5 separate regions of the Homo sapiens genome follow, and all the other regions are linked to region 2. Evidence: promoter capture Hi-C in human tissues and cell types (Jung and others, 2019). All regions are on one chromosome and are shown on one strand. The core of a region is centred on a gene start or on the middle of the fragment in contact, and the rest is flanking DNA. Distances in the headings are between cores, read along the strand shown.

Region 1 (2,700 bases), core at 82-2,581, 180 kb before region 2:
GTGGCTCACGCCTATAATCCCAGCACTTTGGGAGGCTGAGGCGGGCGGATCACGAGGTCAGGAGATTGAGACATCCTGCCTAACATGGCGAAACCCCGTCTCTACTAAAAAGTACAAAAAATTAGCCGGGCGTTATGGTGGGCGCCTGTCGTCCCAGCTACTCCAGAAGCTGAGGCAGGAGAATGGCGTGAACCCGGGAGGCGGAGCTTGCAGGGAGCCGAGATCGCGCCACTGCCCTCCAGCCTGGGCGACAGAGCGAGACTCCATCTCAAAAAAATTAAAAAAGAAGCAGCTTGGGACCAAGGAGAGTCATTGAAGCCTTAGACTACCTATGTAGTGTTTAATTGAGAGAAAATACGCATTTATCTTGTTTAAGGCACTGGTTTTTTGGCTGGATGTACATAATAGACTTTTTTTTAACCAGGAATAAAAATTAAGTTAGGCTTTTGTTTAACTTCAGTGTGCAATTGGCAAGCCCTTCTCCAACCCCCATGTGGCATAACAATCCTTTCTAGCTGCTTTAAGTTGCTGAGCCACCAATTTCTATTATTCCTGGAATCTGAGTCATCTATACTCCCTGTGTTATTACACATAATATGTTATTATGACTTTAATCAAGGAAATATTTTTTTCACTTGATATATTAGTCACATAGCTCCTGGATTGTCAGAAACAGCCAGGAATGCTAGCTAGTATTGCATCATTTTATCTGTTATTTCCTGTGGGGAGTGGCTTAAAATCAGACCAGCCAAATCTAGGCAGGAACTGGATCTTGCTTTCATTAGTTTCTGCAATTATTTTCAGAAGGAATCAGTTTCCAAGGCAGAGGAAGGAATAAATACTATTTGCTTGGTTTTACTACTGAAGTTGTGTAATTTACATAACAGCAAAATTACAGCTTAGAATTCTAAGTAGCAATTATAATGTTTAAAAAAAGACAAAACTTTGCACTTAAGCAATAGCAAAGAGTGGAAAATGTTAAATAAACTTCACACAAAATTTAAATATTTATTTAATCTCATTTGCCTGGAGGGAAAAAAAACCACATTCTTTAGCCCTAAAATTGAAATAGAAGAGAACTCTCACAGACAGTAAATTCAATTCTAAAAGCCCCAACGCGGCCGGGCGCGGTGGCCTACACCTGTAATCCCAGCACTTTGGGAGGCCGAGGCGGGCAGATCACGAGTTCAGGAGTTCAAGACCAGACTGTCCAATATGGTGAAACCTGTCTCTACTAAAAAATACAAAAATTAGCTGGGCATAGTGGCACGCACCTGTAGTCCCAGCTACTTGGGAGGCTGAGGCAGGAGAATCGCTTGAACCTGAAGGCAGAGGTTGCAGTGAGCCGAGATCATGCCACTGCACTCCAACCTGGGCCACAGAGTGAGACTCCGTCTCAAAAAAAAAAAAAAAAAAAAAAAAAAGCCCCAATACAGGAAAATAGATATGGAAGGAACTCAAAAACTCATACAAATAAGGTGGCAAATGAACTTTCTAAGCCTAATGATACATGTGATGTCACCCAAACAAAACAAAAAGCTAATTAGGCATTCTTGTTTTTCCCTTAAAGCCAATCTTTTTTTTTCTCCTCTTGGATCCATCCAGTGAGGTTTTATAACCCTCCTATTTGCCCTAAAGCAAATGGGCATTAAAACCATATTTTAATATTAGGTAAGTTATTGGTAAACAATCTTTGGTCCTAAAAAAGTGAAACTGTTCTTCATTCAGTGCATAAGGATTGAAAAAAGTCTTGGATTAGGAGATCAGTTTAATGCCTATCAAATCACTATGGAAAATGCTTTGAGAAACTCTGGCAGTGCCAGTTTCCCCAAAGTGAGGAATGGCTGCAAGGTGTGGTCTGAAGATTATTATTGTCCATAAGCTAGATAATTTAGATGGTGCATGGATGTGGCATTAAATAATGCTATAAGGCCTGGTGTGGTTGCTCATGCCTGTAATCCCAGCACTTTGGGAGGCTGAGGTAGGAGGATCGGTTGAGTCCAGGAGTTTGAGACCAGTCTCAGCAAATGGTGAAACCTCATCTCTATTAAAATACAAAAATTAGCCGGGCATGGTGGTGCGCACCTGTAATCCCAGTTTCTTGGGAGGCTGAGGCAGGAGAGCAAGACCTTGTCTCAAAAAAATAAAAATAAATAAAATAACAATAAATAGGCTGGGCGCAGTGGCTCACACCTGTAATCCCAGCACTTTGGGAGGCCGAGGCAGGTGGATCACAAGGTCAGGAGATCAAGACCATCCTGGCTAACATGGTGAAACCCCGTCTCTACTAAAAATACAAAAAATTAGACGGGCACGCTGGTGGGCGCCTGTAGTCCCAGCTACTCAGGAGGCTGAGGCAGGAGAATGGCGTGAACCCGGGAGGCTGAGCTTGTAGTGAGCCAAGATCGCACCACTGCACTCCAGCCTGGGCAACAGAGCAAGACTCCGTCTCAAAAAAAAAAAAACACAATAAATCTACAGGGGTTCATCTTCAATCTTTCGGATTACATTAAGGAGAAAGTCTCTGTTTGGTGCTAATAGATCTTTATCACCTCTCCACACTTAACTAATTTCCCTTGTTGAACAGACAGCAAGCCCCAGCTGCACAGCCTTTAGCAGATTAGACTGCTTCCCTAGAATTTTATTTTATTTATTTATTTATTATTATTTTGAGACGGAGTCTCAGCTCACTGCAACCTC
Region 2 (2,700 bases), core at 13-2,512:
ATCTGCACAGTCCCTTACAATGAAGTAAATGCCAAACAAAGACGCATGCCCAGAGCAGTTATGGAAAGACCAATCAAAGACTTAGCAGGTTGATGATTTCATCATTCATTTAACATTTATTGAGCATGTACATTGTGTAAAGCAGTTAGCCAAATTAAGTATACATGAATTTACGGTATAAATGTGTATACATGTAATATATCATATACACACACACAAGCCCCACTTTAAAAAATTCCAGGCATCATGTGTCAATGATACAATCACTTTGAACGATACACCTTTTCTGTAATAATGTGTGTATTGCACAAAAAAATTCCAATAGTGATTAGTAACAACCAGATACTGTGACAGTGCCCCATTGCCATTCCATGGGAGATGCAAGAGCATTGTCTCAGTAATAAAATATGATGTTATCAGGCATTTATGGCTCCTGGGGAAAAAAATGCAATTGCTTGCTGTTTTGATATTATCTCTGACTATGCTTGCTTATCATTTGCCATTTCTATATTTAGTAGCCAGTCATTTTGAAGTTAAAAAAAAATCAAGGTTTGCATTGTAACCACAAACCAGTCTTTGTGAACAGGAATCCTGGAGGCTATTAATCAGCTTTTAAAGGAGGTAAGTCATGGTGGTGGTGGGGTATCTGAAATTTTGGAAGTTCCGAGCTCACTTTAAGAGTTGAGATGGGTGGGAGGGCTGAAAACACCACCATTCATCATTCTTCAGTTATCTCGAGACTCAACTTAAACATTTTTAATCAAAAAGATGGGAGGGGACACGGGTCACATCTCAGGTTTGGGGGAATGTGTGTGCGTGTAGATGTGAAAACTGAGCCAAAATATTCCACTGTGAAGAGATCTCCCTTCTCGGCTGGTGGACATCAACCTTACCAAGTAATCTTTGGAGCAAGTAACTACCAAATAAAGCCGTTCCAAAACTTCTACGTAAGCTCCTACTTTTTAATGAGTACGCATTTCTCCCCATTTTCTTTTCCTCTCCAAGGACTGAGATAGCTGGAGCAAGGATGGGTCCCCCTCTGATTTCGTCCCCGCCCCAGCCAATCTGAGCCCGGATGCTAATTAGCTGCGCTCCCCTGATGAACACGCCTTTGTCACAAGTAGGCCCGGACTACAAAGCCCAGAATGCCTCACCCCTCCCTGATCAATGAGGGCTTATTTAAATGATCTCTGAGGTCTTGGACCCAGGCCAATCAGCTGTCAGGGCTCATGATAAATCGCAATGCATTATTGATAATAATAATTACTGGGACATGCGCGTTCCGGCCGAAGGGGGGTAAATTTCCCAACTCCAGGAATTTGTGGCGGAGAGGGCAAATAACTGCGGCTCTCCCGGCGCCCCGATGCTCGCACCATGTCGAGGCGCAAGCAGGCGAAACCCCAGCACATCAACTCGGAGGAGGACCAGGGCGAGCAGCAGCCGCAGCAGCAGACCCCGGAGTTTGCAGATGCGGCCCCAGCGGCGCCCGCGGCGGGGGAGCTGGGTGAGTGGGGCTGGGGCGCCCGCCCGGGGAGGGGAGCTTCCCGGACGTACGCGGGATCCTCGAGGGCGCAGGCTTCGGGGAGCGGGCGGCGTCCAGCGCAAATTCAGGAGCCGAGATTTGGGGGCTCAGTGCCCGGGAGGAGAGGTCTCCTCCTCTCCCCACCACCCCGCCTTTTGCACATTTCACACTTTTTTCCTCTTCTCCCCTCTTGTGTAAGTTTCACCCCCAGCTTTCTCCCCTAATTGTAAAATTGACCCCCACTCGCTCCTCTGTTCTCGCTCCCGAAAGGTTCCCTTCTCCTTGTCCTCTGCCCCTCACTTAATTGGTTCCACTCCCCTCACTGGTGTTACCCCCCCCCCTTGTAACTTAGGTCCCCCTCCCTCGCGTCGCTCTCAAAAGAAAGAACCCCGGGGGATCCCCACCCTCTCCACCAGCCCCTTGGGGCTTTTCTTGGAGGCTGGAGGAGGGGCGCACCCCTGGAAGACCCCCCGGAGGAGGACGATCTGTTGCACGCGCCCCTCCCGGGCCAAGTGGGGGGAGGGGGCGCGACCTCTCCCCACCCTCAGGAGCTGGGGTGCGGGCCACCCGCGCTGCGCAGGGGATTGGAGGGCCCAGAGAGGTGGGGGAGGAGGGCTCAATGTTTCCCTTTAAAATTTTTTTCTTTTCTGGATTTCGCCTTTTCTGCCCGGGCTGCGCCGCCTGCCGATCTTCGCCCTAACCTTTCGGGGCCTGACCTCCAGCCATCTTTGATTTCCGACTTCCTAAAAATAACCGCGGCAAGCCCGAGGGTGCGAGCCCCCAGTGGCCGGGGTGGCGGGCGCGCGGCAGCCCCACTGGGGTGCACCGGCCTCCCGTTTTGCGTGGCTTTTCTGGAGCGCTCGGCTTTCCACATTTGCGCTTGGGTGTGAAAGGGGAGAGGTGGGGGGCCAGAGCGAACTCCCGCGGCTGACCTGGCCCACGCTTCCGCGGCCAGCGTTTCCCAGATCGAGGGGAGTTCGGGACCCCAGCCGCGCCAGGAACGGCGGGGCCAACTCTGTTCCCACTTCATCACTTCACCGCGGAGGTTTTAGGAGCGAGGCGGTTTTCCACTATCTCGTCTCCATCCCGGCCCGCCAAATTGTCGCCTGATAAGTTTTTAGCGTGCGCGTGGGGGGAGGGGGGATTTGTAGCCTCCTCTCCGGCCTTGTTCGTCGCTC
Region 3 (2,700 bases), core at 18-2,517, 130 kb after region 2:
AGCATTAGGACCCTCCAGGTGGTCTCTGTAGGGCTCTGCCATTAGGGATGTATCTTTCTACTCAAGGGTCAGAATCCTTCGAGATAGAATCTGATTGCTCTAGTGTATGTCATTTGTCACCCTCTTGGCCAACGGAATGGGCCAGGCCCCTGATTGACAGTCCTCTTGGGCCACCTTAGGTAATGGGCATGGTGTGGTTAATTTCCCCTGGGAAAGCTAGGAAGCCATTTTCAAAAGGGGAATGGGATTCTAGGCAGGCAAAATGCTGCAGGTGTCTTCCCCAGCAGGGACAGTACTGACTGCAGTGTGTGACATAGGGCAAACTCTCCAAAGATGGCAGCTGTCATTACTGTTAATAATAACAAACATCCTGAGAGACAGGCCGGCCACTCATTTGTCTTGTGTTTTAGGCACTCTTACCCAGAACGAGATGATTTTCAAACGGCTCCATCTCGGAACAGTAGCCTACGGCCTCGACTCAATGGACGAAGTACAAAGCCACATTTTCAGCATTTACACCCAGGTAAAGCCTTCCATTTCAACACCCAAAACAATTCTTTGACTTTTTTTTTTTAACAGCTATATTGAGATGTAATTCACAATACCGTACAATTCACCCATTTCAAGAGTACAATTCATTGTTTTTTTTTAAGCATATTCAGAGTTGAGCAACTGTCACTGCAATCGATTTTATGTTTACCCCAAAAAGAAGCCCTCTACCCATCAGCAGTCACTCCCCAATACCTCCCTTCTATACCCATGACACCCACACTTCCTTTACACTTTGAATAAAATTGCATTTGGGGTCCTTCCCCATCTTCCCTATCTTCAGGGCTAATCTGCTCTGCTGAAGTGCTGATGGACATTAGGAAAAACCTGTGAGAAAATTATATGCCCAATAAATAGAACCAGAAGGAACCTGCTGGTTGATTATACTTCAAGTTTACGACCACGTTGATGTTTTCCCTTTCCCTGGCTATGACCCGGAGCACCAATAACAAATGGTCTGCTTGTGAAATAATCATGACGTTACTGATTACCTTTAGTTTCTCATCTACATTCAACTCAACAATCACGAGGAAGAAATTAGTTCATCAGAGATAACTTGCAGTTTATCTGTTCCTACCTTTATTTTTCCTACCAAGTTTCCCAAAACCAGTCACTTTTCAGAGAAAGTATTACTGGCAAATATCCTAATATTCCTAAAGTGTTAGACCGGTGGGTCCCCATCTTGGCTGTGTGTCAGAATTGCTGGTGGAGTTTCAAAACAACACAGAACAAAAACGAGACATTTATTTGGGCTTGATACCCTGGAGATTCTTACTCATTAAGACTTAGGGCAGGGCGTGGCTTTGGGTTTTAAAAGTAAGACAAACACACCCCTTGCTAATTCTGAGGCACATCCAAGGCTGAGCCAGACCGCGTTAGACCAGCTCCATGTTGCAGCACTTGTTTGGAGATAACAAGAGAATAAGGAGGTCATATTTTGCTTAAATTCGTCGAAATAGAGAACATTCCCATAGTCAGAAGACCAGTAAGAAATATGAATGAATTATCTCTGTATACAGGTTAAAGGCAGAATCCCTGAATACTTCTTGATACGGTCATAACTGACATTTAATTTTCTGGAACATTTGTCAGTGGGCTGGATTTCCAGGCTGTCTCCTGAAAATGGCAGAGCAGGGGACAGTGTGACAGTGGGAGTGGATGTTAAGTTAGAACAGCTGACTTGACACAGTTCTTGTCATCATCTACAACCAGCAACAAAGCCCTTGTTGCTGTTCCAGGCTCCATGGGGAGGCGTCATGGCTGGTCTCCAAATGGATCCATGGACCTTTTTCAAAGATGTACTTTAGCACTATTAAGAAATCACGAGGAACTTCCCTGGACAGGGAGGATGAGCCGCACAGCCCCCGTTTCCTTTCTGTCTCTTTGACCGTCTTCCTCTGTGTGGTGATTTGGGGTTGGTGTCTCTGGGGCTCGGTGCTGGACTCTGTTATGTTGTTCCCCGGATGGCCCCTCACCCTGCTTCCATCGCTCTGTGGATGCTGATGGCTCTGTCTCCATCTCCATCTCTAGGCCTGACCTGGAGCTTTGGATTATAACGTAGCCGAATGTTTGGCATTGCTGCATGTGGCTCATAAGGATGCTGTACCTGGGACCCCTCCTGACTTTCTTCCCTCATCTCCTAAACCTATTCTCTCCCAGGGCTGCTTGTCTTAGTGCACACCACGCCCTCCATCCTGGTACCCTCGTCACCCCAGCTGACAGCCACTGCCCCTTCTCCAGTACCTGCTCCCACCCGATCACTAGATCACCCCTTCGGCCTTTTTTTTTTTTTTCCTTCTCCCTTTCTTCCCTTCCTTTCCTTACCCTCCCTCCCCTCCCCCAGCCCCTCGCCCACTCCCAGCCCTTCCGCCCCCCCCCCCCCCCACCTCCCTTCCTTCTTTTGTAACAGGGTCTCACTCTGTCACCCAGGCTGGAGTGCAGTGGTGCAATCACAGCTCACTGCAGCCTCAAACTTCTGGGCTCAAGCAATCCTCCCATCTCAGCCTCCCAAGTAGCTCGGACTACAAGTGTGCACTGGGTATGCACCACCACACCTGGCTAATTTGGTTTATTTTTTATAGAGACGAGGTCTCACTGTGTTGCCCAGGCTGGACTTGAACTCCTGGGCTCAAGTGATCGCCTCACCTCCCA
Region 4 (2,700 bases), core at 99-2,598, 200 kb before region 2:
TCCAGCCATGCATAATTTTAAACCTGCTGAAGATGATTTGGTTAGAATATGAGAGTCACTTCATTTTTCATATTAGCTTGCAAAAGTTTTGTCTCCATTCAGCACCAGAAGCTGCGTACACAATAGCATGCATGAATCTTGTGTATCAGTGAAGAGAGCCCCTTGAACTCCGCCTTACGGGAACAAAGAGTTTCCAAGATGCATCAGAGTAGCAGATGTTGAGTTATCTGAAGGGTCAGAATGCCAATTAGATATTGAACATGGCAGGAGGAGGGTGGAGTTTCCAAAACAAATGAAAGATGAATGGGAGCGGTCCCCGAGTTTAGGCTTAGGTCCTGCTGTTCTTTTGTACAATGATTTGTGGCAAATTTGTTTTGTCACTGAGGCATAGTTCCCCCTGGGTCTTAAAGTGATTTTGTAATCACCAAAAGATTTTTTTTTCTTTAAAATATACTTTTCCTGATCAAAACAGGATATAGTACCTTAAAAATAAATTTGAGTAAGCCACATATTATCTATGTGAGGGATGACGAAGAAGAGTCCTACATGAAAAAATAGAAGACAGAAGCAGTCAAGAGGGAGGGAATCATTCCACTAAAAAAAAAAAATTAGGTAGAAATCCAAAAGAATTCAGGGGATCATTTTTTCACACTTTAAAAAAGATAAAAACTTATTTGGTCTAGCAATTTACGAATTTTGCTGATTTTTCAGTTTCATAGGGTAAAGGTATAATTTTAAATCTAAGAAGCCTACAAATGAGAAAAAATGTGGGAAACCTGAGATGCAAAATGCTCCCATGGTTAATTATGTATTTGTATCGGTGTTACCATCATAAATCATCCTTAGAGAAACAAAACCAAGTAGTTAAGAGGACAGACACAATGGCGTTCTGTTTAAATAATTTCATTTGGTCCTTGAAATACTTTTGGCTATTTTTTCTCTCGAAACCACCCACATTTAGTAAAATTATATCACTGAGTAGACCCTACCCTGTTCTCTCTCCTGACTCCTGGCGAGTACTAGACCGTGGAATACCAAAGGCAAACCGGCAAAAAAGGAAATTGGGATTGCATTGATTTAAATCAGTCAGTGCTGCGACCAAATTATTTAGTTCTCTCTTGACCTTTGGAGGTCAAATTTGACTATTTACGCTATCTGCTAATGCTTTACTATTTTTCATTGCTTTGCCTGTTAACAATTCTGACCTGCAGCCTTTCCAGCCTGCAGGGTCGTTATATTAAACAATCGCTAATTGCTCCCGAAACATATGCTCCTGTTTTAAAATGCCATTTGAGTCCAAGCCCAACCAAAACCCATACATTTGTTTCACGAATGAAAACAAAATGTAAGCATTTTGATATTTCTGAGAAGCCAAACATCGTCAGATTTGAGTGATAAGGTGGAAAATAACCTCTTCCTCAAATTAACATGGAAATGGCTTAGAATAAAGACTATTCCTAAAAAACGAATATTAAAGGCAACACATACTCTCCTGTAATCACATTGTCAAATATGCTACTTTAACATTCCTGCAGAGAAATATGCTTTTATCCTTCCTAAAGATCTTAAATGCAAGAATATTATATGACATTTTCTTCCTCTTCATTTGTCTATCCTACAAATATGAGTGTCTGATGCTGATGATCCTGGTATAGAGGGGTGAGCTAGATAGGCAGAATTCTCTGAAATTGGACTTTTTGTTATCTGTATTGAAAATGTTACATTTGTTAAAGAACAAACGAGAGACAAACAGAGATGTTCACATTTCCAATGTTTACCATGAAGAGAGGTGAACACGAAGTTGTTTGTCAAGGAGCATGGTTTGCTTTCCAAAATTTATCTTAGATTGTATTTGAGACAAAAAGAACTTCTTTACTGCCCACAAGAGAAAAGATAAGTAATTCATTTCAGATCAAAATAGCCAGAGAAAAAGAGCAAATTAAGATAACTCAGCTAAAATAATGATAATAATAATACGGCTAATAATAACAATAATAACCCAGCTAATAATAATAATAATAATACAGCTAAACCATGCGATTGAAATTTCATGCAGGAATTTCCAGCAGTTTGGCTGGGGGTGGTGCATGCTGCTTTCAGCCCCCAGTGGTGGATCAGGGATATGTGATGTCAACATAATCTAGCAAAATCTCTGCTCTCGGTGATGCTGCTGTATGTAAACAAGTGAAATACAACAGGAAAGTCGTTCCCCATCAACTTCCTGGTTTCCTGCTCTTTACATTCTGACACGTAAACCTCTAATTCATTTCAGAATGCAAAGGTCACCGCAAAAAATCTGAGGCTAAATATACCCTTTTGTCCAGCAGAAGGATCACAGAGATCTTTTTTTTCTTTTTACCATAATGTGGCCATGGCCAGGTGTTTCCCATGTTTGCCTAACCGCATTGGGAGTGTGTTTACAGATCTGAAAAATAGCCTTCAACACTCATTTAAAATATACTTTTTAGCTGGAATAATTGTTAGAAGTATAGAAAAGTTGCAAAGTTAATACAGAGAGCTCCTGTCACCTCACTTCCCCTAACAGTAACATCTTGCCTACCAAGGGTACATTTGTCCAAACTAAGAAATTAATATTGGACAAAGACTATTAACTAAACTCCAGGCTTCCTGGATTTCCCCAGTTTTTCCACTAATATCCTTGTCTAGGATCAAACCCAGACTACCATGTTACATTCAGGC
Region 5 (2,700 bases), core at 126-2,625, 220 kb before region 2:
AATAAGTGTCTCAGCCGGGCACGGTGGCTCACGCCTGTAATCCCAGCACTTTCGGAGGCCGAGGCGGGCAAATCACAAGGTCAGGAAATCGAGACCATCCTGGCTAACACGGTGAGACCCCGTCTCAACTAAAAATACAAAAAATTAGCCGGGTGTGGTGGCGGGCGCCTATAGTCCCAGCTACTTGGGAGGCTGAGGCAGGAGAATGGCATGAACCCAGGAGGCGGAGCTTGCAGTGAGCTGAGATCATGCCACTGCACTCCAGCCTGGGCGACAGAGTGAGACTCCATCTCAAAAAAAAAAAAAAGGTCTCTTGTTTGTTTTCTGAAGCTCTAACTGCTTCTACAGGCTGTCTCTAAATCCATCACTAGCTGCACAGCCTTTGTTGTTCAACCTCCCCAAGCCTTAGTTTGCTCATCTGCCGTATCGGGATAATAATAATCGGACCTAGCCAGGCGCAGTGGCTTAGGCCTGTAGTCCCAGCACTTTGGGAGGCAAAGGCAGGTGGATCACCTGAAGTCGGGAGTTCAAGACTAGCCTGACCAACATGGAGAAACCCCATCTCTACTAAAAATACAAAATTAGCCGGGCGTGGTGGCACATACCTGTAATCCCAGCTACTGGAGAGGCTGAGACAGAAGAATCACTTGAACCTGGGAGGCAGAGTTTGCCAGGAGGCAGAGTTTGCCATGAGCCGAAATCACACCATTGCACTCCAGCCTGGGCAACAAAAGCAAAACTCCGTCTCAAAAAAATAAATAAATAATCAGACCTTCTTCACAACACCAATAGGAGATGTAAAGGTCTTAGTACAGTTTTTATTAAATACATTTGTATTATTTTTCTGGTATCTTGATCTCTTTTTGTCACTCGATATGACAGGGTAATTTTTTTTTTTTTTTTTTTTGAGACAAAGTCTCACTCTGTTGCCCAGGCTGGAGTGCAGTGGCACGACCACAGCTCACTGCAGCCTTGACCTCCCAGACTCAAGTGATCCTCCCACCTCAGCCTCCCAAGTAGCTGAGACTACAGGCACACACCACCACACCCAGCTAATTTTTAAATTTTTTGGTAGAAATGAGATCTCACTATGTTGTCCAGGCTGGTCTTGAACTCCTAGGCTCAAGCAATCTTTCAGCCTTGGCCTCTCAAAGTGCTGGTATCACAGGTGTGAACCACTGCACCTGGCCCTGGGTGACTATTTTGGATAGTGGCTTAGAACATAGGCTTTGTGGTCAGACAGGTGGGTTGTAAACCTAGCTCACCCACTTTTTAAGTGAACTTGGGTAGCTTACTAGCCATACAGGGGTTGAGAAAACTAAATGAGATAGTCCTTTAAAGATGCCAGCAGGAGACCTGGCATGTATGTGATCAATGCTACAGGGATGCCAGCTGATGCAAGGAGGACATGGTGCCGATTCATGTTGGACAGCAGCAGCATTTACAACAGAGAAAACTCTAGTATTTCCATGATGTTTGTCTACGCATACATATAGCACATAAGCCAACTTAGCCTTTTTGCAAATTCATTTAACAGTTTCTTATAGAAATATGTTATTCTGAGCCACATCAATATAAACCATCACACATTCTTTTTTAAAATATGCTGTACATTTAGAAGTATGGCTTGGCCTCCAATTTGAAGCTTGTCACTTTCTTTAGTGCCTCTAGTTATCACTGTGAGCCCATCAGCCTTGCTTATCCAACAAGTTTATGAATAGCAAATGTTGATGGCTTCATTGAGTTGTGACTATAAATGCAAGGAAAATGAGAACAAGGGTGAAGAGGTGGCTTCTTTATAACAGCTGTAATTTATCCAGGGTTTTGTGCTGGCCTTTGATTTGGGGGCTGACTCTGAATCTAGTGTTCCCCCGGATTGCATTAGGAGCAGCCCTTAGGGGTCAGATGGAATTCCAAGGTCCTGGAATTAGTTAGAAGAATGAGAATGCACATGTGTGAAGGGGCAGGGCAAGGGGCCTTTACAAAACTCATCCTTCAAGACCCAAACAACAGCTTTCTGCCCAGGTGACCTTGAGAGAGGACAGGGCCAACTTCTGGGACATGCAACCCTTGCAGTTACACAGGGCCCCGAGCTCAGACAGGTTCTAGCTTGGCTTAATGCTCTGCTGTGGCCATCTTGAAATTCTTAATAACATTTTTAACAAGAGGCCCTATGTTTTCATTTGCACCATGCCCTGCAAATTCTGTGGCTGATCCTGGGACCCTTGAGGACACTGAGGCTTTTGCTCACCCCTGGGCACAGTCGTGACTGTTATAATGAATGACAAGTATTTTGTACATCCGGGGAATAATACTGATCCCAAGTAACATGTATGAGCCAAGTACTTTACCCAGATGACCTTATTTAATCCGTCCATGGACCCATTTTAGAGGTGATGAAACTGAGACATGAAGATAATAATAACAGTTCACATTTATCAAGCATATGCATAATCTTACTTTTCACAACAATCCTTTACAGTGGCTCACGCCTGTAATCCCAGCACTTTGGGAGGCCGAGGCGGGTGGATCACGAGGTCAGGAGTTTGAGACCAGCATAGCCAACATGGTGAAACCCAGTCTCTACTAAAAATACAAAAATTAGCTGGGTGTGGAGGTGCACGCCTGTAATCCCAGCTACTCGGGAGGCTGAGGCAGGAGAATAGCTTGAACCCGGGAGGTGGAGGTTGCAGTGAGCCA

The links. The method cuts DNA at HindIII sites, captures the fragments that hold promoters and counts their contacts. A contact is called where the count stands out against the background at its distance.
Region 1: a fragment that was not itself captured here is called in contact with the fragment with the promoter of SALL4 in region 2 in 1 of the 25 tissues and cell types used here (H1 embryonic stem cells).
Region 3: a contact is called between a fragment that was not itself captured here and the fragment with the promoter of SALL4 in region 2, in 1 of the 25 tissues and cell types used here (hippocampus).
Region 4: a contact is called between a fragment that was not itself captured here and the fragment with the promoter of SALL4 in region 2, in 1 of the 25 tissues and cell types used here (mesendoderm cells).
Region 5: a fragment that was not itself captured here is called in contact with the fragment with the promoter of SALL4 in region 2 in 1 of the 25 tissues and cell types used here (mesenchymal stem cells).

The regions. Positions count from the first base shown.
Region 1 is chr20:51,983,139-51,985,838 of GRCh38, reverse strand. No RefSeq gene overlaps it. Among named protein-coding and RNA genes, the nearest start is that of LINC01429, 120 kb to the right of the region's middle. The HindIII fragment of the contact is 7,832 bases long and covers 1-2,700 here.
Region 2 is chr20:51,801,083-51,803,782 of GRCh38, reverse strand. SALL4 (spalt like transcription factor 4) reads left to right here and starts at 1,262. Exons shown (of 4, transcript NM_020436.5): 1 at 1,262-1,504. The coding sequence starts at 1,375. RefSeq lists enhancers at 916-1,557, 2,201-2,700. The HindIII fragment of the contact is 8,319 bases long and covers 1-2,700 here.
Region 3 is chr20:51,667,820-51,670,519 of GRCh38, reverse strand. It overlaps ATP9A (ATPase phospholipid transporting 9A (putative)), which reads left to right. Exons shown (of 28, transcript NM_006045.3): 13 at 411-523. Among named protein-coding and RNA genes, the nearest start is that of ATP9A, 99 kb to the left of the region's middle. The HindIII fragment of the contact is 5,724 bases long and covers 1-2,700 here.
Region 4 is chr20:52,001,733-52,004,432 of GRCh38, reverse strand. No RefSeq gene overlaps it. Among named protein-coding and RNA genes, the nearest start is that of LINC01429, 140 kb to the right of the region's middle. The HindIII fragment of the contact is 5,550 bases long and covers 1-2,700 here.
Region 5 is chr20:52,023,197-52,025,896 of GRCh38, reverse strand. No RefSeq gene overlaps it. Among named protein-coding and RNA genes, the nearest start is that of LINC01429, 160 kb to the right of the region's middle. The HindIII fragment of the contact is 9,290 bases long and covers 1-2,700 here.